Linked DNA regions of Homo sapiens: regions 2, 3, 4, 5 and 6 are each linked to region 1. Evidence: promoter capture Hi-C in 16 types of primary human blood cells and fetal thymus (Javierre and others, 2016). All regions are on one chromosome and are shown on one strand. The core of a region is centred on a gene start or on the middle of the fragment in contact, and the rest is flanking DNA. Distances in the headings are between cores, read along the strand shown. Region 1 holds the start of COTL1 (coactosin like F-actin binding protein 1). Region 2 overlaps HSDL1 (hydroxysteroid dehydrogenase like 1). Region 3 overlaps ZDHHC7 (zDHHC palmitoyltransferase 7). Region 4 holds the start of KCNG4 (potassium voltage-gated channel modifier subfamily G member 4). Region 5 overlaps LINC02176 (long intergenic non-protein coding RNA 2176). Region 6 has its middle 4.8 kb from the start of LINC02176.

Region 1 (3,669 bases), core at 443-2,942:
CCAGCTACTCAGGAGGCTGAGGCAGGAGAATCTCTTGAACCCGGGAGACGGAGGTTGCAGTTAGCTGAGATTGTACCACTGCACTCCAGCCTGGGCAAAAGAGGAAGATTCTGTCTCAAAAATAAATAAATAAATAAATAAATAAATAAGTAACCCACACCGTCTGGCTCAGGGTCCACGCCGTAACCTCCGGGCTGTGCTGCCGTTGTCCGAAAGCTTGCTTCCAACTAAAGACCAGAGATGGGAGGGAGTCGCATTCTCCAATCTCTTTAAAAGGTCCCATTACCAACATCACAGAGCCTCTGCCACTACCGAAGGGTTTATGGCGATGCCTGCCACGTGGTCTTTCTTTTCATGGTTCACAAGCCACAGGGAAGTGCCTAAGGCACACAAATCTTAAGTATACAGTCTGATGATTTTTCACGCGGGTACACACCTGCATAACCCCCTCCCAGATCAACAAATGTCTACAGAGACATTTTCAGCTCCCAGCAGTCCGGGTGGTGTGCCCCTCCCCATCAGTGGCTATCTAGCCCCAAAAGCTAATCTCGATTCTGACATTCACACCATAGATTAGTTTCGCCTTGTCTAGGATTTCTAAATGGAATCATATGGTGTGTACTCTTTTGCATCTGATTCTACTCGTCAAATTAAAAATCACATAAAATCAGCACACGGGCAGACAATGATAGCGGGAGAAAGGAGGGCGCGGCTGAGTTTCTTTCCCTTCCAAGCAGCCCCCTAGCCTGTTCGTATTTGGGCTCAGTGACTGATCAAAGGGGACAGTGGGAAGAGCTGGATGGACACTGGAGTTTGGAAACACAGGAGTTGACCTTAGAAAACCAGTGGACCGCAGGGGGCAAAAGAGCTGCCCCGCCTGGAGAAGGCATTGTAGGATGGCGGAGGCAGGTGGGTCACTTCTGTTGCTTCGGATGTCCAGAGGGGAGAAGGTTTTATGAGGCCTTAAAACGCTCACACCGGGTTCCTCCCACGCCATGCGCCAGGGGCACCCCATGTGGCCACCGGTTCCTCCCGGGTTCGCTCTGGCCGGGGCTCCCCGGGTGCAGACAACCTCCCAACGACCGCGCATCCGCCCGGCAGGCGCGCCTCCCTACCTGTGCACTGCTGGATGAAGTGCTGGTACTCCGCTCCCTGCTCGCCGGGGACGATGGTGGAGCCGTCATATTTAAAAGTCACCCTTTGGGTTGGGAGAAGAAAAAAACACACACACACATCAGCGCTGGTGGCCGCGCGACGCGGCGCTTGCAGAGGACAATCTAACAGACGCGCTGGCCACGGAGAAGCCCGCGGGGGCCTGGCACGCCGTCCCGGAATAAGGCGAGGAAGACAGCGCGGGAGGCCCGAATCCGTCCCGCCTGGAGGCCGGCTCGGTGCACGAGGCCCCGCGCGAGCCCGGGGAGCGGGGCGTGGAGACGAATGAAAAGTTCCTACCAGATGACGGCCGAGCCGTCGTCGCGCACCAGGTTGTACGCCGCCCGGCAAGCCTCTTTGTCGATCTTGGTGGCCATCGCCGCGGAGCCGCAGCGGGACACTGTCCGGGGCGGCCGAGCGCGCCCCTGGCCGGCGGCGGGGATGGGAGCGCGGCGGGTACGCGCCGAGGGCGCACGGGCTGGCGGCGGTGGCGACGGCTACGCGGCGCCTGCAAGCTGCGAGCGCGGCGGCGGCTTCCACTGCGGACGGAGAGCGCGCGGGGACCCCAGGCCGTGGCCCGCCCCGCCCCCCCGCGCCCATTGGCCGCCCAGGCGGCGGCCCGCCTCTTCATTGGCCGTCGGGCTGCGGGGGCGGAGCGTCTTGATTCTCTGGCGGCCAATCCCAGACCGGAAGGCTTGCGCAACTCCGCGGTGGGGGCTGGAGTAGGGGCTTTGCCTCCTCCCTCTCACTCTCCCTCCTCCCTCCCGCTCTCTTCTCCCCCAACATCCCTCTTCTCTCTCCTTCTCCTTCTCACTTCCCCTCCTCCCCTCCCGACCCCTCCCTGGAAACTCCCACTACCCCAACCCCCTTTCCCACCCCGCCTTCCTCCTCTCCCTCCTCCTTCCTCTTCTTCCCCCACTGCTTGCTTCCCCCACTTCCCTGACCTCTTCCCCCTCCCTTCCCTCCCCCTCTTTCTCCCTTCCCCCTTTATTCTTCTTCCTCTCTCCTCCTCCCTCTTCTTGCCTATCCCAGCCCAAAACTTCTCCATCCTCCCTATTTCCTTCTCCCCAAGCTCTCCTCTTTCCTCCTCCTTGACCCCCTCCCCTGCTGCCCCCGGCTTCGCCTCCCTCTTCTCCACTTACCCTCCTGGCATCTCCTCCCTCCCTGTCCCCTACTCCCTCCTCCTATTCCCCCTCTCCCCCTTCCTCATTCTCCCCACCCCCCTGCCCCTGAGGCTGCAGGGCTGCAGAGCTCCACAGGGGACCTCCACGTGGATGATGTAATGCGTCAAACCCAAGGAGACAGGCTGGCCACTGTCCCTACCCCAGCGTTTGGTTCCATGGATTCTAGGTGGGGAGGAACTGGAAAGAATGAAGCATTTTAAATAGGAGGGGGTAGAAAGTGGACTGCTTCCAAAACGCTGGTGGGCTCGCGTTTACTCTGGATTCTGGTCATTTGCATTCCTATCTTAACCTCTCCCTTTGGGCTCCTCTGAAAGCACGAGCTGACTCATTCTGTCTTCCTCATTCCTTCACTGACTCATTCATTCATTCCCTCATCCAGCCATTCCACAGAGACCAGTTACAGCGTCCAGGTAGGTAAAAAGGCAGGATCCTGAAGACTGGGCTCTTGAATTGCATCCAGTACTGCCACTTTCCAACTGGGGGCCATTGGAAAGCCTCAAAACCTCTTTTAAATGACTCCTCAAATGGGAAAAATAGTATAACTGACATCACTGCTTTGTTTTAAGTGTAATTGAAATGATACTTGGAACAAATATACTAGACATTCGATAAAATGTCATCATTGTTGGTTATTAAGTGATAAAAACAAATCCTAAATAGAAACCCAAAAGGTCAGGGACAATGTCCAATTAATGTTAGAATTCTCAACAAGCAAAAAAACAAAAACGAGAAATTGAATGAATCAATCAATCAGTCAATCAATGGGTAGTTGAATGGGTGGGTGGACAGGAACACAGTTTCAGAAGAGTAGAGGCAGATGCTGTTATAAATAAGACAAAAAGAAATTCACATTTCATACCCCACAAAGCCATTCCTACCTTACTCCTTGACAAGGGTAATGGGACAATTGGCCATTAGAAAGAAGAACAAAGGTGGATCCTTTGATCAGGGAAAATTCCAAAAGGATCAAAAATTTAAACACAAATAAAGGAAATCAGACCAGTCGCAGTGGATCACTCCTGTAATCCCAGCATTTTGGGAGGCTGAAGTGGGAGGATCTCATAAGCTCAGGAGTTCGAGACCAGCCTGGATAACAGGGGGAAAGCCCATCTCTACTAAAAATACAAAAATTAGCCAGGCGTGGTGGCAGACGACTGTAATCCCAGCTACTTGGGAGGCTGAGGCAGGAGAATCGCTTGAACCCGGGGCGGGGGGCAGAGGTTGCAGTGAGCTGAGATCGCACCATTGCACTCGAGCTTGAGCGATAAAGCGAGACTCTGTCTCAAAAAAAGGAAATCACAAAAGTGCCAGAAGAAAATATGGGGAGCTTCCT
Region 2 (3,669 bases), core at 412-2,911, 480 kb before region 1:
TTATGCACAGTTCAAAGAATAATAAAACAGCCACTTAGCCACCAGCCTACTTAACAAAACCAGTGTCGTGGAAGTCCTGTATGCTGTTCCTCTGATTACAGCCCCTCCTCTATCCTGGAGGCAGCCTCTCTCCTAAATTCTGGGGTAGTCACTCCCTGACTCTTTTAACAAAACAGCTGTATACCCCAAGCATGTATTCTGAAACAGTAACAGTATTGCTGGCCGGGCGCGGTGGCTCACGCCTGTAATCCCAGCACTTTGGGAGGCCGAGGCGGGCGGATCACGAGGTCAGGAGATCGAGACCACGGTGAAACCCCGTCTCTACTAAAAATACAAAAAATTAGCCGGGCGCAGTGGTGGGCGCCTGTAGTCCCAGCTACTCGGGAGGCTGAGGCAGGAGAATGGCGTGAACCCGGAAGGCGGAGCTTGCAGTGAGCGGAGATCGCGCCACAGCACTCCCGCCTGGGCGACAGAACGAGACTCCGTCTCAAACAAAAAAAAAAACAGTATTGCTAAGTTTCGCCTGGTTTTGAACCTCACATAAAGGAACCACACCACATGGACCCTTTGGTGACTTGTTTCTTTCACTCAACATCATTCCCGAGACTCATCCATGCCCCTGCAGCTATATAGTCCATCCTCCTCGGCAGCTGCACAGTATCTCACGGTTCAGATGCACTGCAGTTCACAGGTCCCCCTGCTGCTGGTTCAGATACACCACGATTCACAGGTCCCCCTGCTGCTGGTTCAGATACACCACGATTCACAGGTCCCCCTGCTGCTGGTTCAGATACACCACGATTCACAGGTCCCCCTGCTGCTGGTGCTAGGCACGTGCACTGTTTCTGCTGGTTTTGATTTACAGTTAGGAACAGTGCTGCAGGGAGCGCTTGTCCCCATCTCCTGCACACCTGTGCAAGAGTTCGCAAAGGGATTTGCCCATGGTTTAACTGCTGGTCCACATGCATTCCACTGCCAAATGCTTTTGCAAAGCGGCAGAACCCATTCACACTCCCGCCAGCAGCAGGTTCGTGCCACTCCTCAATGTCACTGGCTGGTAGCGTCCAAAGCTTCACCTTCTGCCAACAGGGTGGCTGTGAAATGGTATCTCATTATGGTTTTAATTTACATTTCCCTGGTTACTAGTAAGGCTGCAGTCCTTTTTATATGTATGTGCTTTCTGTGTTTTGTAATCTATGAAATGCCCGTTCCTATCTTTTGTCCTTTCCTTTTTTTTCTCTCAGAATTGTAAGAATTCTTTAAATATTCTAGATACTAGCTCTCTGTATGTTTTGTGTCTCATTATAGTGTCTTTCATGAACTAAATGTGTTGTTATTATTATTGAGACAAGGTCTGGCTCTATTGCCCAGCCTGATGTGCAGTGGCATGATCACAGCTCACTGCAACCTCCGCCTTCCGGGCTCAAGCCATCCTCCCACCTCAGCATCTCAAGTAGCTGGGACACAGGCATGTACCACCAAGCCCAGTTAAATTTTTTTTGTGTGTGTAGAGATGAGGTTTCACCATGTTGCCCAGGCTGGTCTCAAACTCGTAAGCTCAAACCATTCACCTGCCTTGGCCTCCCAAAGTGCTGGGATTACAGGTGGGAGCCACTGCACCTGGCTGAATGTCTTAATTTTGAAAGAGACAAATATATCAATCTTTCTGCTTTAGGGTTTGTTTTATTTCAGAAATCCCTCCTTAGCCTCAGGTCATGAAGAAATTTTTTCGAATTATTTTCTAGAAATTTTACATTTTTGCTTTTTCAGTTTAAGTCTTTAATCCTCCTGGCGTTTTGTGATGGTGTGAGGCTGGGATCTCACACATCTTTTTTTTTTTTTTTTTTTTTTTGAGACAGAGTCTCACTCTGTCACCCAGGCTGGAGTGCAATGGCGCGATCTTAGCTCACTGCAACCTCCTCCTTCCAAGTTCAAGCAATTCTTCTGCCTCAGCCTCCCAAGTAACTGGGACTACAGGCGTGTGCCACCATGCCTGGCTAATTTTTGTATTTTTTTCTTTTTTAGTAGAGACGGGGGTTTCACCATATTGGCCAGGCTGGTCTTGAACTCCTGACCTTGTGATCCGCCCACTTTGGCCTCCCAAAGCACTGGGATGTGACCGGCCGGATCTCACACATCTTTAATATTCCTCCTCAGCACCTGACATGCTGCTGTAGACAACTTTATTTAATAAACAGAATCAAATACTGCTTTGTGTTCAAAGCTCAAATTTCACTCTTGAGAAAAAAACTTAAGCTTTTCATACTCTGCGTCAGCACTATGACAAAGTTAGCATTGGTGTATCAAGACTTTTTGGGATGTCTTTACCTTCACTGCCAATTTTTGGTATAGGACTAAACGCACAATGAAGCTGAGCCTAAAGAGCAGCAACATGGAATTAGAAACCTGGATTCTCATCCAAGATCCAACACTCTTCACCATCATGTCTGTATTTATGCAGTAAGAATTAAAATATTCAGAGTACCCCACTCCTAGGCAGATACCCAAGATAATTAGAAACTTTTGCTCACATAAAAACTCCTGCTTGCATGTTCACAGTGGCCTACTCACAACTGCCAGAAGGCAGAAACAAACAAAATGTCCATCAACAAATGAATGAATAAGCAAAATGTGGTGTTATCCACACAAAGGAGTATTATTCAGCCATAAAAAAGCATGAAGTACTGATACATACTACAACATGGATAAACTTTGAAAACATTATGCTAAAGGACAGAAACCAAATACAAAAGGCCGTATGTTGTATGTTTCCACTTGTATGAAATGTCCAGCATAAGCAAATCCATAGAGACAGAAGATAACTTAGGGCTGCTGAGGGACAGGGGGAGAAAAGAGGTATGACTGTTAATGGGGTTGGGGTTTCTTTTGTAGGTGATTAAATGTTCTGGAATTAGTTACTGGTGATGGTTGCATAGCATTGTGACTATAGCAAGAACTACTGAGTTATACACTGTAAAATGGCTAAAATGATAAATTTTATGTCATGCGTAAGTCATTTCGATTTTTGAAAACCTACTTTAAAAAAAAGTAGCACCAATATGTTCAACTCTGTTGCCCTAGAATATTCCAGCAGTGATTAAAACCACAAACTTGGCCGGGTACAGTGGCTCATGTCTGTAACCCCAGAACTTTGGGAGGCCAAGGCGGGCAGATCACTTGAGGCCAGGAGTTCAAGGCTACCCTGACCAACACAGCGAAACCCCGTCTCTACTAAAAAAAAAAAAAAAAAAATTAGCTGGGTGTGGTAGAACGTGCCTGTAATCCCAGCTACTCGGAAGGCTGAGGCAGGAGAATCACTTGGGCCCGGGGTGCGGGATGGCGGGCAGAGGTAGCAGGAGCTGAGATCGCAGGCACCATTGCACTACAGCCCGGGCGACAGAGCGAGATTGTCTGAATCAATCAATCAATCAACACCCTCCCCCTCCCCCTCCCTCTCCCTCTCCCTCCCTCCCTCTCTCTCTCTCTCTCTCTCCTGTGGCGGTCAGAGTAAAATTGAGAGCTCACTTTATGCAAAAGACTCTGCTAAGTGCTTTATTCCTATTGTCTCACTTTATTCTCTCATTAATCTTATAAAGCGCAGTCAGACTCTCCCGTTTATAGATGGGGAAATTGAGTCTTATAGATGTAAAGTCGCACACCCAAGACCCC
Region 3 (3,669 bases), core at 689-3,188, 380 kb after region 1:
CCTGGCCAAGCTGGTGAAACCCGTCTCTACTAAAAATATAAAAATTAGTCGGGCACAGTGGCAGGCGCCTGTACCTGTAATCCCAGCTACTCAGGAGGCTGAGGCAGGAGAACTGCTTGAACCCGGGGGGTGGAGGTTGCAGTGAGCCGAGATCGTACCACGGCACTCCAGCCTAGTGACAGAGTGACACTCCCTCTCCAGAAACAAAAAGAAAAAAGTGCACTTTTCCTGGTAACTGTTTTGACTGCTTCTTTGATTGTACGCCCTTCTCTTATCGGTGTTTGCTCTGAGAGTTGTAATATCACAGATAAAGAGCCAGGGAAAGGAAGAGACAGTCAATTTCACCTAGCTTTGCCATGAGGAGAAAATACTGACAAATATTTTAACGAACTGACCCGGGCACCTTCTCAGAGCAGGAGCGCTCCTCATATTTTAAGCAGGCAGAGTGCAGAAACCATGGCTTCTGAAATGTGAATAAAGGAGTGTAGTAAGAATGTTCTCAGAGGTCAGGTCACTACAACTGAGTAACAGCACTGGGTGCTGTTTTTCAAATCTGGGTGTGACTTTTTCTTTTCTTAAATGCAACTGGAACATAGCAATTATGAAAACATTTGCCGAATGAACATGTGGTGAGGATTCATTCGCCAAATACTTTAAAAAATTTCCTCTCGATGCAAAAATGCTGACTGGTACAAGAGCAAAATGAAATTGTTTTCCAAAGTCAGTAAAATAGCCCTATTTTTCAATCAGATAAAAGCAGCTTTAAAAAATGTTTAAGGCTGGGTGCAGTGGCTCAAGTCAGCACTTGGGAGACTGAGGCAGAAGGATCATTTGAGCCCAGAAGTTTGAGATCAGCCTGGGCAACAGAGTAAGACCTCATCTCTACAGAAAATAAAAATTAACCAGGCATGGTGGCTTGCGCTTATAGTCCCCCCTACTAGGGAGGCTGAGGGGGGAAGATTGCTTGAGCCTGGGAGGTGGAGGCTGCAGTGAGCCATGATCATGCCACCGCGCTCCAGCCTGGATGACAGAGAGATCCTGTCTCAAAAAATAAAAATAAATAAATACATGCTTAAGGCTGAGTGTGGTGGCTTACACCTGTAATCTCAGCACTTTAGGAGGCCAAGGTGGGAGGATCTCTTGAGCCCAGGAGTTTGAGACTGGCCTGCGCAACATGGGAAGACCCAATCTCTACAAAACAAAATTGTTTTTTTTTTTTATAGTCAGGCATGGTGGCACACACCTATAGTCCCAGCTGTTTGGGGGACTGACGTGGAAGGATCGCATGAGACTGGCAGGTTGAGGCTACAGTGAGCCACAATCCCACCACTGCAGTCCAGCCTGGGCAACAGAGTAAGTAAGACCCAATGTCAAAAAAATTGTTTTAATTAAAAAAACTTTTAAAAATAATCATTTGAGTGAAATAGAAAAAACTAAAGATCAAAAGAATTTGGACAGACCCCTTAGCCAACCATTCCTTCAGCATTTTCTGAACCTACATCTTCTGCATCTGTCTGCTCAACATCCCCTGCAAACACCTTTGCAGCACCATTGCCTCTACATAAACCTCATTCACCCTGCAGGGCCTAACTTTTCTCTCTTCTAGGCAAGCCAACCTGAAAAGGGAGTTCTCTTCTTCTGAGGAGCACTTTGCGAAGAGGTCTCTAGACATCAGATGTGACTATCCGGAGATAAAGGCTGAAACTGCTTCTGCCTGCACTACTAGTAAAGCCTGACTGTCAGGGGGCTGAGAAAGTACCTGGAAGTTTCTCTGCCTCCGCTGAAGCCCTGGGCACGCTCACCAGCTCTCCCTCCCAGGTACTTACCACTTGCTACCTGAGAGCTCTTGCAGGTCCGACCTCCCGGCCTGATGTCAGCCCCTCCAGGGGGGTCTGGGTCTCCTCCTGCCCTGTCCCCCTCATGCCTTGCATGCTGTCTGGCGCACAGCAAGGGCATGTTTGCTAAAAGGCAGATGCAACAAAAAGCAAGCAGTCCCTCTCTCAGATTCCAATCACCTCCTGCTGATTTCCATCTAAGTTTCTTGGTGAATCGTTATCTGTGGGCCCAGGTACATCAAGGCCGTAAGCTGAAAAATTCCTCTGAGCAGAACCATTTTGCTTTATGGTGACTTCTCTAATAGGACACGTTCCATGAGAAAAGGAAGGGTGCTTTCCAGGCAGTAAAACAAGCTATACTTTTGTCAGAGCACAATGTTTGGGCAGTCTGAGCTCTCTCCAGAAAGCAGGGCCTCTTGAAAGTCTTCTAAAGGCACACATGTGACACCTGAGCCAGCTCAGCTCCGCCTTCCTGGTTCAGGTCCTGGTAAGACCTCCACGGAGTGCAGGATGCTGCTGTGGCTCCATGCCTGACCTGGGGGTGCGGATGGCAGGCACAGCTGTGTAAGGAGAGCGCCCACAGACACCAAACACTGGCCATGGCAGGACGTTCCTATAAGCACATATTAGGGTGACATATCATACTTGAGGGCTTTAGTGCCATATCTGTAAGATCCATTAGAAGTCAACAGGAAAATAACATGAAATCCAAAAACTGCTTTATTTTCAACAAAGCAACAAACGAATATAGCAAAGTTAGGCTGGACAAATACAGCTCTCAGTAACACAGTGCACTCACTCGTGTCTCTGAGTCACTGTATTTACACTTGAGTAATGCAACAGGAAGGGAGGGGAAGAAATGAAGAAACCATTCCTTTACATGGAAGCTAATCTAAAAGCAAACAGCACAGCCATTTGAGATGCGGTATTAAAATGTACACATTCCTTAGGAGCAAGGGCACAGCCTTATTCTGCACTGAATTCCAAAACCACCGTTGACTTCATACTCAAGACAGTTTCTGAGGGAACCGTGAAACACTGGGCACTCTCACACAGATGCCCCAGCATCACTCTTCTACCCTAATGGCCGATTTAATGGGATTTTCTCAACACTCCCGAACCTAAGCTCTTTCTCGGCATGTTAAATAAAGCCCTGTTTCCCAGAACACCAAAAGCAACACTACAAATCTCCATATTTAAAGGGACAACCACACAAGCAAAAACTTTCCGTTTCAGGCCGGGCACAGTGGCTCACGCCTGTAATCCCAGCACTTTGGGAGGCCAAGGCGAGTGGATCACTTGTGGTCAGGAGTTCAAGACCAGCCTGGCCAACATGGTGAAACCCCGTCTCTACCAAAAATATAAAAATTAGCCGGGCATGATGGCGGGTGCCTGTAATCCCAGCTACTAGGGAGGCTGAGGCAGAAGAATCACTTGAACCTGGGAGACAGAGGTCGCAGAGAGCCAAGATCACGCCATTGCACTCTAGCCTAGGCAACAGACTGAGACTCCATCTCAAAAAAAACAGACAAAAAAAACCAAACCACTTTCCATTTCAGGTGGAAAGCGGGGTATTCCCCTCATCTTGTGATACTGGCCAAGAACTCATCAATTCAATTCATGGAGTCCCCTCCACAGATACACCCTCCTTTTAGGACCGGAAGGCAGCGGGTGAAAAGGAAGGCGTGCCTGTCAGCTTGGCACCACGCCTCTGCTTTGCCACATGCACAGGTTACCTTTTTAGTAATATACAAGCTAGTGTCAGCTGTGAGAAAGGAAACAGTGATTGGACCCTAAATAATCACACTCTTACCTCACAAGTTATTTCTAAACA
Region 4 (3,669 bases), core at 828-3,327, 380 kb before region 1:
AGGCGCTGGGGCTCCTGTCGAAGAAGAACTCCTGGCTGTCCTCGTCGTAATCATCGCAGAGCTGCACGATCTCCTCGTAGCTCCGACAGAGCCTGAGTTTGCTCAGGCGGCTCAGCGGGAACCGGTCCAGTGTGCTCCAGGGGAGGAGATACCTCCTGCCCCCCACGTTGATCAGGATCTCCTTCTTCAGGTCCACTGGGGAGGCGTCCAGGGCACCCACCTTCCGCACCCTCCGGTAGTAAAGGCCCTTGATGGACGGCGTCTCCATGGGGCTGGACAGGAGCTGACTCCAAGGGCTGTGGGAACCATAGTGGTGGTGTCTGGGATGCAGGCCCCCGTCTCTGGAAGGCATGGGCATTGCTGAAGACCACCAGGTAGGAAGCGCTGGGTTTACCAGTCTGACACCCAAGGGACAAAGAGCAAGCAAAAGGAAGGGAAATCAGTCTTGGGGCAAAGAGTCCTGGATGTCACGACTGCAGATGTTCTTACGTGTGCTTTCCTGTGACTGCATCTGCATGGCTTGTTCTTTTAACCTTTAGTTCAACACATATTTATTGAGCACCTACTATGTGCTTGGGATACATCAGTGAAAAAAACCCTTCCCTGGTGGAACCTCTACCGACATCTCAGAAGGATGTCTCCAGAATAGACGTTGCACGGATGGGGGCTTGAGTAATTCAGTCCTGAGCTGGACAAGTCGGAGCGGTGCCACTTCTGGGCTCTGTGGTCTCAGGTATGTGGCTTAACCTCTCTGATCTCAGCATCATTCATTCAAATGACAAGACTCATACTAATCTTGCAAGGTACAGGTAGTAAAAATAGAGCTTAAGAATGTAGGCTCTCAGGTTCACTGGCAGGGACCGATCCCTTACAGACTGCCAGCACAGGTGGGTTACTCAGTGTCTCTGAGTCCTTTGCTTTATCTGTATGACTGGGGCAGTCTGAGTGCCCACATCGTAGGGCATGGCAAGGGTTATATGCAGTAATATACAAGAAAGTGTGTATTAATAATACTTCTAGATGCTTCTGACATGCCTGGCTTCCCCTAACTCACCTCAACAACCTCATGAAGTAGACATAAGAGCTCCACTTTATAGATAAGGAGGCTGACGCACGGAAGGTTTGCGTGTCTTGCCTACTGTTTAGCAAGCACCTGACATCAGGAAGGTTCAGCGAGGGTCTGTTATTAAAGGTTCGAGTAGCCCAGGAATGTGACTATGCTTAGCGAGCATCCAAGCATCTAGGTCTCAGGAGGAACTCCACCAGTCTCGCTTAATCCCTCTTGGTCGCTTCCCCATTTGGGGAGGCCTTTGCTAAGGGGACGGAGGAGCATTGCGTACTTGCAATCACAGTACTCCTCCATGTTCGTTGCGTGCTTGCCTCAGCCATCCTTGCTGTGTGACCTCCAGCCAGTTACTCCCCCTCTCTGGGCCCGCAGGCTTTTATGTGCAGAATGAAGGGGCCTCCAGCCGCAGTGGTTCATGCCTGTAATCCCAGCACTTTGCGAGGCAGAGGCAGGCAGATCATCTGAGGTCAGGAGTTCGAGACCAGCCTGGCCAATGAAACCCTGTATCTACTAAAAATACAAAAATTAGCTAGGCAAGGTGGCATGTACCTGTAGTCCCAGCTACTCGGGAGGCTGAGGCAGGAGAATCGCTTGAACCCGGGAGGCGGAGGCTGCAGTAAGCCGAGATTGCGCCATTGCACTCCAGCCTGGACAACAGAGCGAGACTCCATCTCAAAAAGAAAAAAACAAAAAAAAATGACGGGGCCTCTAATGCTGTCTCCATTTCAGACCTATATGAGGTGCTTGACTTAGTGTGAGTGTTTTAGATTTAGCCACTTCACATATTTAAAAAGTCCTTTTCATAATATTTCTCACCTTCAGATCCTGCAACCATTTCTTATGCTATTCATTCTAGCCAAAGCCATTTCCAAAGCATCTATAAGCTTACATTTTCAGATGCACTCCACTCCAATCAAGAGAAAAACTCGGCAGTGGAACGGAAATCAAAGTTCCTCTCAATTTCAGAGCCGGTTGGATTCCGGTGGATAGTGGAGAGTGAATCGTAACCTATTTCACACTCTTGCTCCCTACACAACATTCTGTTGCTCTGAATGCATTACTTTGCTCACAGGGAATGGCCAGAGGAGGATGAGGAGCCTGCAGAGAGAAGAGTATTTTGAAATCTGGGGAGCCCTTTGCAAGCTTCCTCATTTTCCCAGTGCAAAAACCAAGACCCAGCGAGCGGAAGTAACTTGTCCAAGGTCACACAGCAAATCCGAATCCAACCCAGCACTCTGTCCCCCAGCCTGGGGCTCCTTCCAGAACCTGAAAACTGCCCTTTCTGCATTCACTGAATAAACCCAATTTTGCCATCTACGGCTCTCCAAACAGCTGGCAAACAGCTCCTTCTGGAGCACGGGAAAGGAATTCACTCAAACCAGCACTTTTGCCAAGGATGTCTAACAGCGTCAACTTCCCCCTGGCCCCCGCCCACCCTACAGCAAGCAGTAACTCTTCCCCTCCAGTTTAACTCACCTTCTTGTCTCAGGGAGCCAGTTTCCAGCTGTTTCTCTGCCAGGCAAGGGGAGCCCATCTCTTGGTGCCCAGGGAAGGGACAGGTTTCTGGTGGAGATGAAGGGGAAGAAAAAAATCCCCAAAACAGCAGTTTCTAGCAGAGTCAGTTTCCAATCTTTCTTCCCGTGCCTCCTCCAGAAACCAGAAGTTCATTCATTCTGCATCTCTCTCTCCAGCAGCTGCAGGAGAGCCCTGGGGGATTGAGGTGGGATTTTTTTTTTTTTTTAAAGGACCCAGAAGTCCCTTTCCTTATGAGAGATGAGGGTCTGGGGGTTCTTGCTGGGAGGGAGCCAGGGCAGCTGTCCTGGTTGAGCAGCGGACTCTGCACTTCAAGTCCCACGGGGACAGCCAGTGTGGGGGGGTGTGGAATGGGAAGGGCTTAGAAATAATCTCTCCATCAGCCAGCAGCAGGAAGAAGCAGCAGCCGCTGCCACTCTGCCAACCGCCTAGGAGGCAAGGGGAGCTGTCCTCCCTCCTCTGGCATGGAGGAGCACAACTCGGGAGGAGCAGAGGGCAACTTGGGGCCGGAGGCATCTGCAGCTACCTGTCCCAGGCACCCCAGAGTCTCTCGGGGTATGCTGATGATGGTGACAGGCTCAAGTTGAAGCTGCAGGAGGAACTTTTTGCTGCTTTTAAGCAGCCCAGGCCTGGGACAGGTTCAGACAGAAGCCCAGGCTCTGAGCGCTGGGTGGGAGTCAGGGGGGCTGTGTTACAGAACAGCAATAGGAAGAGCTCCGAGCTTGGAATTCACACACATGCCTGGATCCTGGCTCCTATGTGAAAGGCTGGGTGACCTTGGCCAGGTGAGTTAGTGCTTCTGAGCCTCAATTGTCTTGTCTCTAAAACATGGGAATGAGAGAGGGTTCAGGGAAGGTCAGAACCATAAGTGCAAGCTCCTGTGCTGGTTGGATGGTTGGGTGGGTGAAAAGGAAGAGGCATCAGTCCAGGGCCTGGGTGTGAACTTGGACTCTGCACTGCCTGGCTGTGTGTTCTTGGTCAGTCACTTCCCCTCTCTGGGCCTTGGGTTTCTCAGTCAAATGAGGACAGTGAAACCAGCGATGGCTGCAATTGTAAAACCAGCATCTTGT
Region 5 (3,669 bases), core at 460-2,959, 320 kb after region 1:
CTATTCAAAAAATTCTCTATGGAGCTTCCACCATATACAAGGTATGGACAAGCAGGAACTGAACACACACAGCCCTGCCCACCCGGCGCTGACAGCAGGAGAGACAGACCATGCGACTATCGAAGAAACCAGAGCCAGAAAATAGGTGAGCAGTAAAAGCAGATTTTATTGAGGAACTGTTGAAATGAGAGAAGAGACCTCGGTGTAGACCTGGGCTCTGGTCTGAATACAGCGGTGATGAGTGGGGATGTCACCTGGAGCAGAGGTTCAGTGGATGGAAAATGGCTAAGAGGAGGTCAGGCGCAGTGGTTCATGCCTGTAATGCCAGCACTTTGGGAGGCCGAGGCAGGTGGATCACTGGAGGTCAGGAGTTCAAGACCAGCCTGGCCAACATGGTGAAACCCTGTTTCTACTAAAAATACAAAAATTAGGCAGGCTTGGTGGGACACACCTGTAATCCCAGCTACTTGGGAGGTTGAGGCAGGAGAATCGCTTGAACCTGGGAGGCGGAGGTTGCAGTGAGCTGAGATCGCGCCACTGTGCTCCAGCCAAGGTGATAGCGCGAGACTCCGTCTCAAAAAAAGAAAATGACTAAGAGGAAGCATTAGGTGTGGGGGGAAGTTCTGGCTAAACCGATGGAACAGGACTCTCGCCGAAGGCAGGCCAGGTGAACAGACACCCCCGAGGGGCAGTGCCAGGCGAGGAACTGCTCACGCGTCGGGGGTCGGGGAGTTTTCCTAATTGACTCTGGGTTCTTGCTAAAACTGGAAAAAGCCAAGACAAGTGCAGAAGCCCCCAGGCCAAGGCCTCCTGGAGAAGAGGGTTTGGAGGAGCCTGACCAAAGCTTGATCGAGGAGAGGGTCTTTGTCATGATTACTGGGGGCTCTGACCCCGTTTAGGAAGACGGGGACTGTGCCCATGAGATCTGAAGGGGGAAGGGCGTTCTTGAGGCAAGAAGGCTGGGGTGGAATTCCAGACAAAGGCAACAGCACAGGGGCAGGGTGAGTCCAGGTCTGGAGAGATGGCCTGCGGCGAGGCCCCATGCATCCCAGGGAAGGTTCCGGAACACCCTGCACACGCACAGTCTCCACCATCCTCTCTAGGCCTGGCCTCGCATCAGACAGGGCCCTTGTGAGAGCTGCCTCAAATGTGACATTTCCACCAGAGCCCCGGCCCCCGTGCCCGCCTTGCCAGCCTCGGCCTGTGGGGGCTGCCACTCTCCACAGGTCCTCGTCCCTGTCGGCCGAGGGCAGCATTCCCGCAGCGGGGAACGATCAGCAGAGATTGGGAAATAGGGTAACTTGTTCCAGATGTCCGGAGCAAATCCAGGCCTGGCTTCTCTAAGGGACTGTTTGGCTTTCTGAAGTTTACAAACAGCAGGATGAGAGGCCCCTCCTGAGAGGCGGCCAGGACCCCCCGTGTGTGATCATGTGCGTGAGGGGGGCTCAGGGCTGCGGAATGCCATCCAGTGTCACCTGAAGTCCACACACACAGCCTGGGGCCCACGTCCACGCTTCCCCACCCAGGGATGCCGGCCTTGGGAAACCCCCTGTAGGACCAGCTGCCCCCGGCCTCTGGAGGCGTTTGGCAGGTGGGAGGTGTCTGCAAGAGACTGGAGAGGGCTGGAGGAGCTGAGTCGCATCCACTCCCCCAATTCCCTCTCTGCAGGGCCGCATGGGCCAGCTGCGTCCCGTGTCCCCAACCTTACCCTCGGGCCTCAGTGCTGGGCGCTCCTGCCGTTGCCGGCCCTGGTGCTGCCCGTGCGCCGCCTGCGGTGTCCCGGAGCCCACGCATCCCTGCACCTTTGAGCACAGTCCTTTTCCTGAGCGCTCCCTAAATTATCCCAACTCAAGTGTGACTTCGGGGCCTGCTCTTCCCAACCCCCTTCCCCAGTAAGTGGCTTTTGCCTGTGCCTTGATGAACACCTGAAGCGAGACCCAGAGACGCTCAACTCCCCGACAGCCCTGGTTCCAAACCGGAGCTGCAGCAGTTGCTGAGCGCGGCTCCTTCACGCCTTCCTGCCGTGAGCGTTCCTCACCGCCGAGGCTTCCTCCTCCTGCTCCCAAACCGTGTCCACTTTTAGGAGGGGACTTTCTAGAACGTGCTTCCGAACGGTACCTATGTGATGAGGGGCTGAGCATGAAATAAAGACAAGGGCATGAGTGTAGAGGCCAGGCAGACCTGACTCGCCCCTCACTCCCCAGGACCCGGACCTCTCTGGATCTGCATCCTCCCCCTAGTAAAATGGGAGACACACCGCTATCCAGACAACTGGGATTCCTGGACCAGACTTTTCTTTTGAGGTGAGCACACCCGCCCCGCAACCCAGATGGACTAGGGTGACCTTCTCCCCACCCCACTCGCACCTCAACAGGCACATTTCCCCATCTGCCCTTGGGCTGAGTGACACAGTGGCTGGGCCAGGGATGGTTTGACACCGCAGGACATGTCAGCGTATTTTTCCAACATACTCTCCGCCTGACTCATTCAGTGGGAGACACTCACATGAGCTCCCCGCCCGAGAGGCCCTCTGGCACCGCAGACCCAACACATAAACAGGTCCTCTCTCCTTCCAGAAGCTTCTGGAGCCCATTGTGCTTTAGATTCATCCACCCTTCCTCCAGACGCTGGGCATCTCTCTCCTCTCCTCTCCTGCTGACCCCACCATTCGGATGGCGCCTGTCACCCTAACTGTCTGCACACCCCAGGTTCCTCCCCACCCCACCCCTCTGCCCTCCTTTTTGTCTGATTTGCCAACTGGTCCTCCTGGTTCTGCCTTGTCCACTGTGGTGTTTTGTTTTTAGGGTTTTAAAACTAATTTATTTAGGTGAAATCATATAACATAAAAATAACCATTTTAAAGTGATCAATTAATTGGCATTTGGTACTTTTTTTTTTTTTTTTTTTGCAGCCTCAACCTCTTAGGCTCAAGCAATCCTCCCACCTCGGCCTCCTAAGTAGCTGGGATTATAGACACATGCCACCACGCTTGGCTGACATTTTGTAGAGACAGGGTTTTGCCATGCGTCCCTGGCTGGTCTTGAACTCTTGGGTTCAAGACATCTGCCCGCCTTGGCCTCCCAAAGCACCAGGATTACAGGCATGAGCTACTGCCCCCAGCAGCATTCAGTACATTTACAGTTTTGTACAACCAGCACCCCTATCTAGCTCCAAAACACTTCCCTCATCCCACAGTGAAACCCCAAACCCATTAAGCAGTTTCTCCTAATTTCTGTCTCCCCCAGCTCCTGGCAGCCTCCAGTCAGCTTTCTGTCTCTATGGACTGGCCTGTCCTAGACATTCCTTATCAATGGAGTCACACAGTATGTGGTCATTTCGTCTGGCTTCTTTCACTTAGCACCATGGCATCAGGGTTCATCCACATTGTATAACCTGGATCGGTGTTTCATCCCTTTTTTTTTTTTTTTTTTTTTAATTTATTTTGAGATGGAGTCTCACTCTGATGCCCAGGCTGGAGTACAATGGTGCGATCTTGGCTCACTGCAACCTCTGCCTCCCAGGTTCAAGCGATTCTCCTGCCTTAGCCTCCTGAGTAGCTGGGATTACAGGTGCCCGCCACCACACCTGGCTAATTTTTGTATTTTTAGTAGATGGGGTTTCGCCATGTCAGCCAGGCTGGTTTTGAACTCCTGACCTCAAGTGATCTGC
Region 6 (3,669 bases), core at 839-3,338, 310 kb after region 1:
GCCAGGCGTGGTGGTGCATGCCTGTAGTCCCAGCTACTTGGGAGGCTGAGGCAGAAGAATCGGTTGAACCCAGGAGACAGGTTGCAGTGAGCGGAGATCGCGCCATTGCGACCACCCTCAGTTCATAGATAAAGAAACTGAGGCACAGGGCTTTTATGTGATTTGCCCAAGGTCTCCCCACTATTAAAAGACAGGGCCACCAGGCGCAGTGGCTCACTCTTGTAATCCCAAAACTTTGGAAGGCCAAGGCCAGAGCATTACTTGAGTCCAGGAATTGGAGACCAGCCTGGGCAACAAGGCAAAACCCCATCTCTCCAAAGAATACAAAAATTAGCCAGGCATGATGGGGTGCACCTGTGGTCCCAGCTACTTGTGAGGCTGAGTTGGGAGGATCACTTGAGCCCAGGAAATCGAGGCTGCAGTGAGCCAAGATCACACCACTGCACTCCAGCCTGGGTGCCAAGATCACACCACTGCACTCCAGCCTGGGTGACAGAACGAAAGCTTGTCTCAAAAAGAAATAAATAAAGAGGCAGGACCAGGACTTGAATCCACATCTGTGTCACTTCAGAGGCCCCGTGTGCCCTTTCATCCAAACCAGTGGGTCTCCCGCCAGCCGCCCACAAGTCCCTGGAAACGTCTAAGCATCTGCGCCCCACCTTCGGGGACTCGGCTACAATCTAAGCTGAGTGCCCATGCATGGAGGACCCAGCTCTTCTGCCTCAACTAAATCAATAGTACCAGTAGAAGTATCGTAGTAATAATAGTAACTGTACTGATAACAATGGCAGTCGTGACAGCAACCGTAGTAGTGGAGGTAGTAGTAGTAATAGTGCTATGAGTGGAAGCAGTTGGATTTTGTTGGGGGTTGCCTGGTATTGGAAGCTGCCTCTCGCTGCCCTACACCAGGGGTTCTCCTGCACCGGCCTGGATCGAAATCCCTTGATGGGCTCTTAAAAATATAGATTGCCAGGCCCAGCCCCAGAGCATCTGACTCAGGAGTTCTGGGGTGGGGCCTGAGAACCTGCATTCTAACAAGCCCCAGGGGATGCTGATTGGGCTGACCCAGGAACCCCGCTTTGTGAGCCGCTGCTCTGGGCCAGTCCTTCCTCCCTGGAGGAAACTCTGTCATGTACACAAGCGCATGTTCATTCAACCCTCACTCAGCACTCAGCACGGGCCAAGTGCTGTGCTAAGCACAGAGGGTGACAAGGCAAAACAGACAAGTCCTTGCCCTTGGAGAGCTTCAGTCCCATCGTCTGCTCTTCTGGCTTTGACAGCAGGGACCCTCTGGGGCTGAGAGGGGCCTTGGGGAGTAGATAAGATGCCTGTTGGCGGGAGAGGACCTGCCTGCCCTGGGAAAGGCTCAGTTTGTTCTTGGTCCTTCAGCGAATCCATTGTCCAAACCTCCCCTCTAAACCAGTTACATAAGTGTTCCCTGAGGTCCGGAAACTTCCAGATGGCCCCGCGGCCCACCCCACCAGCTGGTCCTGGGATGTCAGCTCCGGTCGCTTCCCGGGCCCTGGAATTCCCAGAGCAGCCAGACACAAAGCAGCTGTCTAAACGTCAGGAAGGCCAGGCACGCCGAGTGTGAGACGGGCTGACAATAGCCTGTGTGTACTCCTGGCCCCTCTCCAACAGCAGCTGGGCCCAGAGGGCGGTGGGGGCACCAGTGCCAACAAGGACGGAGCAGGGTCCCCATGACCCCAAACATCTGGGCCCCCAGCACACACCAGCTGTCCATCAGCCCCAGAGGGAGGTGCGCCAGCAACCTCCACCTTAGCCAGAACAGTCCACCCTGTCCCTGCCTTTCTGCTTGGACACATTCCTGGTCACTTCTGGTTGACAAACCTCCCCCCACCTGCTCCCAAGCCATCCTCAGCATATCAGGGAACCACCAGGGGCATCAGAATCACTCAGAAAATGTGTCTAGAATGCCCATTCCTGGGCCCCATCCACAGTCTAATCCCATAGGTCTGAAAGCCGGCCCAGGAGTCTTTAGTTTTACAAAGTCCCAGGCAACTTTGATGCAGGAGTTCCTCAGGCCATACTTTGAGAAACACTGACACATTATATGACATATGATCTATATGCAAGGGAGAATATTTTATATCTATATATGGTTGTCCATATCTACCGCCTGTCTACTTACCTATAGACAGATGATGGATGATAGATGCCGACGTATCCCAGGACACTCAAGTCTCCACCTCACCTTCACATGGCTTTCTCCCCTTGTTTCCTAGAAGGACACCTGTCACTGAATGTGGGGCCCACCCTAGTCAAGAATGATCCCACCTCGTGGATCACAAGGTCAGGAGATCAAGACCATCCTGGCTAACATGGTGAAACCCCGTCTCTACTAAAAATACCAAAAAAAATTAGCCAGGCCTGGTGACGCGCGCCTGTAGTCCTAGCTACTCCGGAGGCTGAGGCAGGAGAATGGCGTGAACCTGGGAGGTGGAGCTTGCAGTGAGCCAAGTTTGTGCCACTGCACTCCAGCCTGGGCGACAGAGCGAGACTCTGTCTCAAAAAAAAAAAAGAAAAAAAAAAAAAAGAATGATCCCACCTCAAAATCCTTAACTTCTTAACACCTGCAAAGACCCTTTCCCCAGATGAGGTCCCAATCGTAATTCTTTGAGGTTAGTATGTGGACGGATCTTTTTGAAGATTCAAACTAGTACAATGGTATGTTATAAACTAATAGTTTATATTAGTTTAATGTAAACTATTCTAAAGAATATAGATATTCTCCTTGAAAATTGGATCTCGCCAGGCATGCTGGCTCACGTCTGCAATCCCAGCACTCAGGGAGGCAGAGGCAGAAGGGTCACTTGAGCCCAGGAGTTCAAGACCACCCTGGAGAACATAGGGAGACCCCATCTCTGCAAAAATAACAGGGGGGAAAAACAAGTTTGAAAATTGGACTTCAAGCAAAAAACACAGGAAAGACATTTGAATTCAAGTCCCCCAGAGGACACAGCCTCAGGCTGCCTCTGGGCCCCTCTTCAAAGTGGGCGGGCTTTGCACTACAGCCAAGCAGAGCAGCCAATCAAATGGTTAGATTTTTCTTAAAGGTCACAAACCTTCCGTTATGGTCTGCTTGTAAGCCCCGTGCATGCTTCACGCCCTCGCGATTTCTCTCCTTCCATCCCCGGCCTCTCCACCCCACTCCTTTCCTGGCCCCTGCTAACTGGCTGACCTTGGACCTCTTCCCTTCTGCCCGGGCTCCCTCTCCCCCGCAGTCATCCCATCCCTTGCGTTACACGCCATCTGCATGTGTGCCCCCTGCCCCACGCCACGTCTTCAGCTCTTGCCTCTCTGAGGCCCAGATCCACAGAGCCCACTGGCCAATGGCCATCTCCACGCCTTGGCTGATGCCTCTTACCCTGTCTGGGCTTCCATTGCCTGGCATGTAAAGCAATGATGACTTTGGAGGGCCACTGTGCACGTGCAGGAGGCGACAGCAAAGACGCTCAGCACGTGGTAAGCGCTGAAGGTCTGAGGATGGTGTCTTCTAAAGCAGCATGCAAACAGCACGGCCGCTCCCCTCGAGGGGGAGGAGCCTTTGGGAAGCAGGCCCGTGGCCAGGTCCTCCCAGGTTCAGGGGTCAGGGTACACAGCTGTTCAGCAAGACTCTTGGGAGGACCCTCCCCTTCCTTCCCTGGT

Evidence for each region. The method cuts DNA at HindIII sites, captures the fragments that hold promoters and counts their contacts. A CHiCAGO score of 5 or more calls a contact.
Region 2: a contact is called between a fragment that was not itself captured here and the fragment with the promoter of COTL1 in region 1, in 1 of 17 cell types (naive CD8 T cells). The highest score is 5.1, in naive CD8 T cells.
Region 3: a fragment that was not itself captured here is called in contact with the fragment with the promoter of COTL1 in region 1 in 2 of 17 cell types (neutrophils and monocytes); the score reaches 6.0 in neutrophils.
Region 4: a contact is called between a fragment that was not itself captured here and the fragment with the promoter of COTL1 in region 1, in 1 of 17 cell types (M1 macrophages). The highest score is 5.6, in M1 macrophages.
Region 5: a contact is called between a fragment that was not itself captured here and the fragment with the promoter of COTL1 in region 1, in 3 of 17 cell types (M0 macrophages, activated CD4 T cells and endothelial precursors). The highest score is 7.3, in M0 macrophages.
Region 6: a fragment that was not itself captured here is called in contact with the fragment with the promoter of COTL1 in region 1 in 1 of 17 cell types (M0 macrophages); the score reaches 5.9 in M0 macrophages.

Annotation. Positions count from the first base shown.
Region 1 is chr16:84,616,386-84,620,054 of GRCh38, forward strand. COTL1 (coactosin like F-actin binding protein 1) reads right to left here and starts at 1,693. Exons shown (of 4, transcript NM_021149.5): 1 at 1,453-1,693; 2 at 1,116-1,198. The coding sequence starts at 1,529. RefSeq lists silencers at 1,522-1,571, 1,592-1,951. The HindIII fragment of the contact is 6,545 bases long and covers 215-3,669 here.
Region 2 is chr16:84,140,602-84,144,270 of GRCh38, forward strand. The region is part of intron 1 of HSDL1 (hydroxysteroid dehydrogenase like 1); the gene reads right to left. Among named protein-coding and RNA genes, the nearest start is that of HSDL1, 2.7 kb to the right of the region's middle. The HindIII fragment of the contact is 1,186 bases long and covers 1,069-2,254 here.
Region 3 is chr16:84,992,274-84,995,942 of GRCh38, forward strand. It overlaps ZDHHC7 (zDHHC palmitoyltransferase 7), which reads right to left. Exons shown (of 8, transcript NM_017740.3): 2 at 3,649-3,669. Among named protein-coding and RNA genes, the nearest start is that of ZDHHC7, 17 kb to the right of the region's middle. RefSeq lists an enhancer at 2,348-2,848. The HindIII fragment of the contact is 8,914 bases long and covers 1-3,669 here.
Region 4 is chr16:84,237,128-84,240,796 of GRCh38, forward strand. KCNG4 (potassium voltage-gated channel modifier subfamily G member 4) reads right to left here and starts at 2,885. Exons shown (of 3, transcript NM_172347.3): 1 at 2,543-2,885; 2 at 1-398. The coding sequence starts at 358. The HindIII fragment of the contact is 259 bases long and covers 1,949-2,207 here.
Region 5 is chr16:84,939,655-84,943,323 of GRCh38, forward strand. LINC02176 (long intergenic non-protein coding RNA 2176) reads left to right here. Exons shown (of 4, transcript XR_933830.2): 3 at 2,205-2,303; 4 at 3,246-3,403. Among named protein-coding and RNA genes, the nearest start is that of LINC02176, 14 kb to the left of the region's middle. The HindIII fragment of the contact is 1,735 bases long and covers 843-2,577 here.
Region 6 is chr16:84,921,391-84,925,059 of GRCh38, forward strand. No RefSeq gene overlaps it. Among named protein-coding and RNA genes, the nearest start is that of LINC02176, 4.8 kb to the right of the region's middle. The HindIII fragment of the contact is 3,173 bases long and covers 503-3,669 here.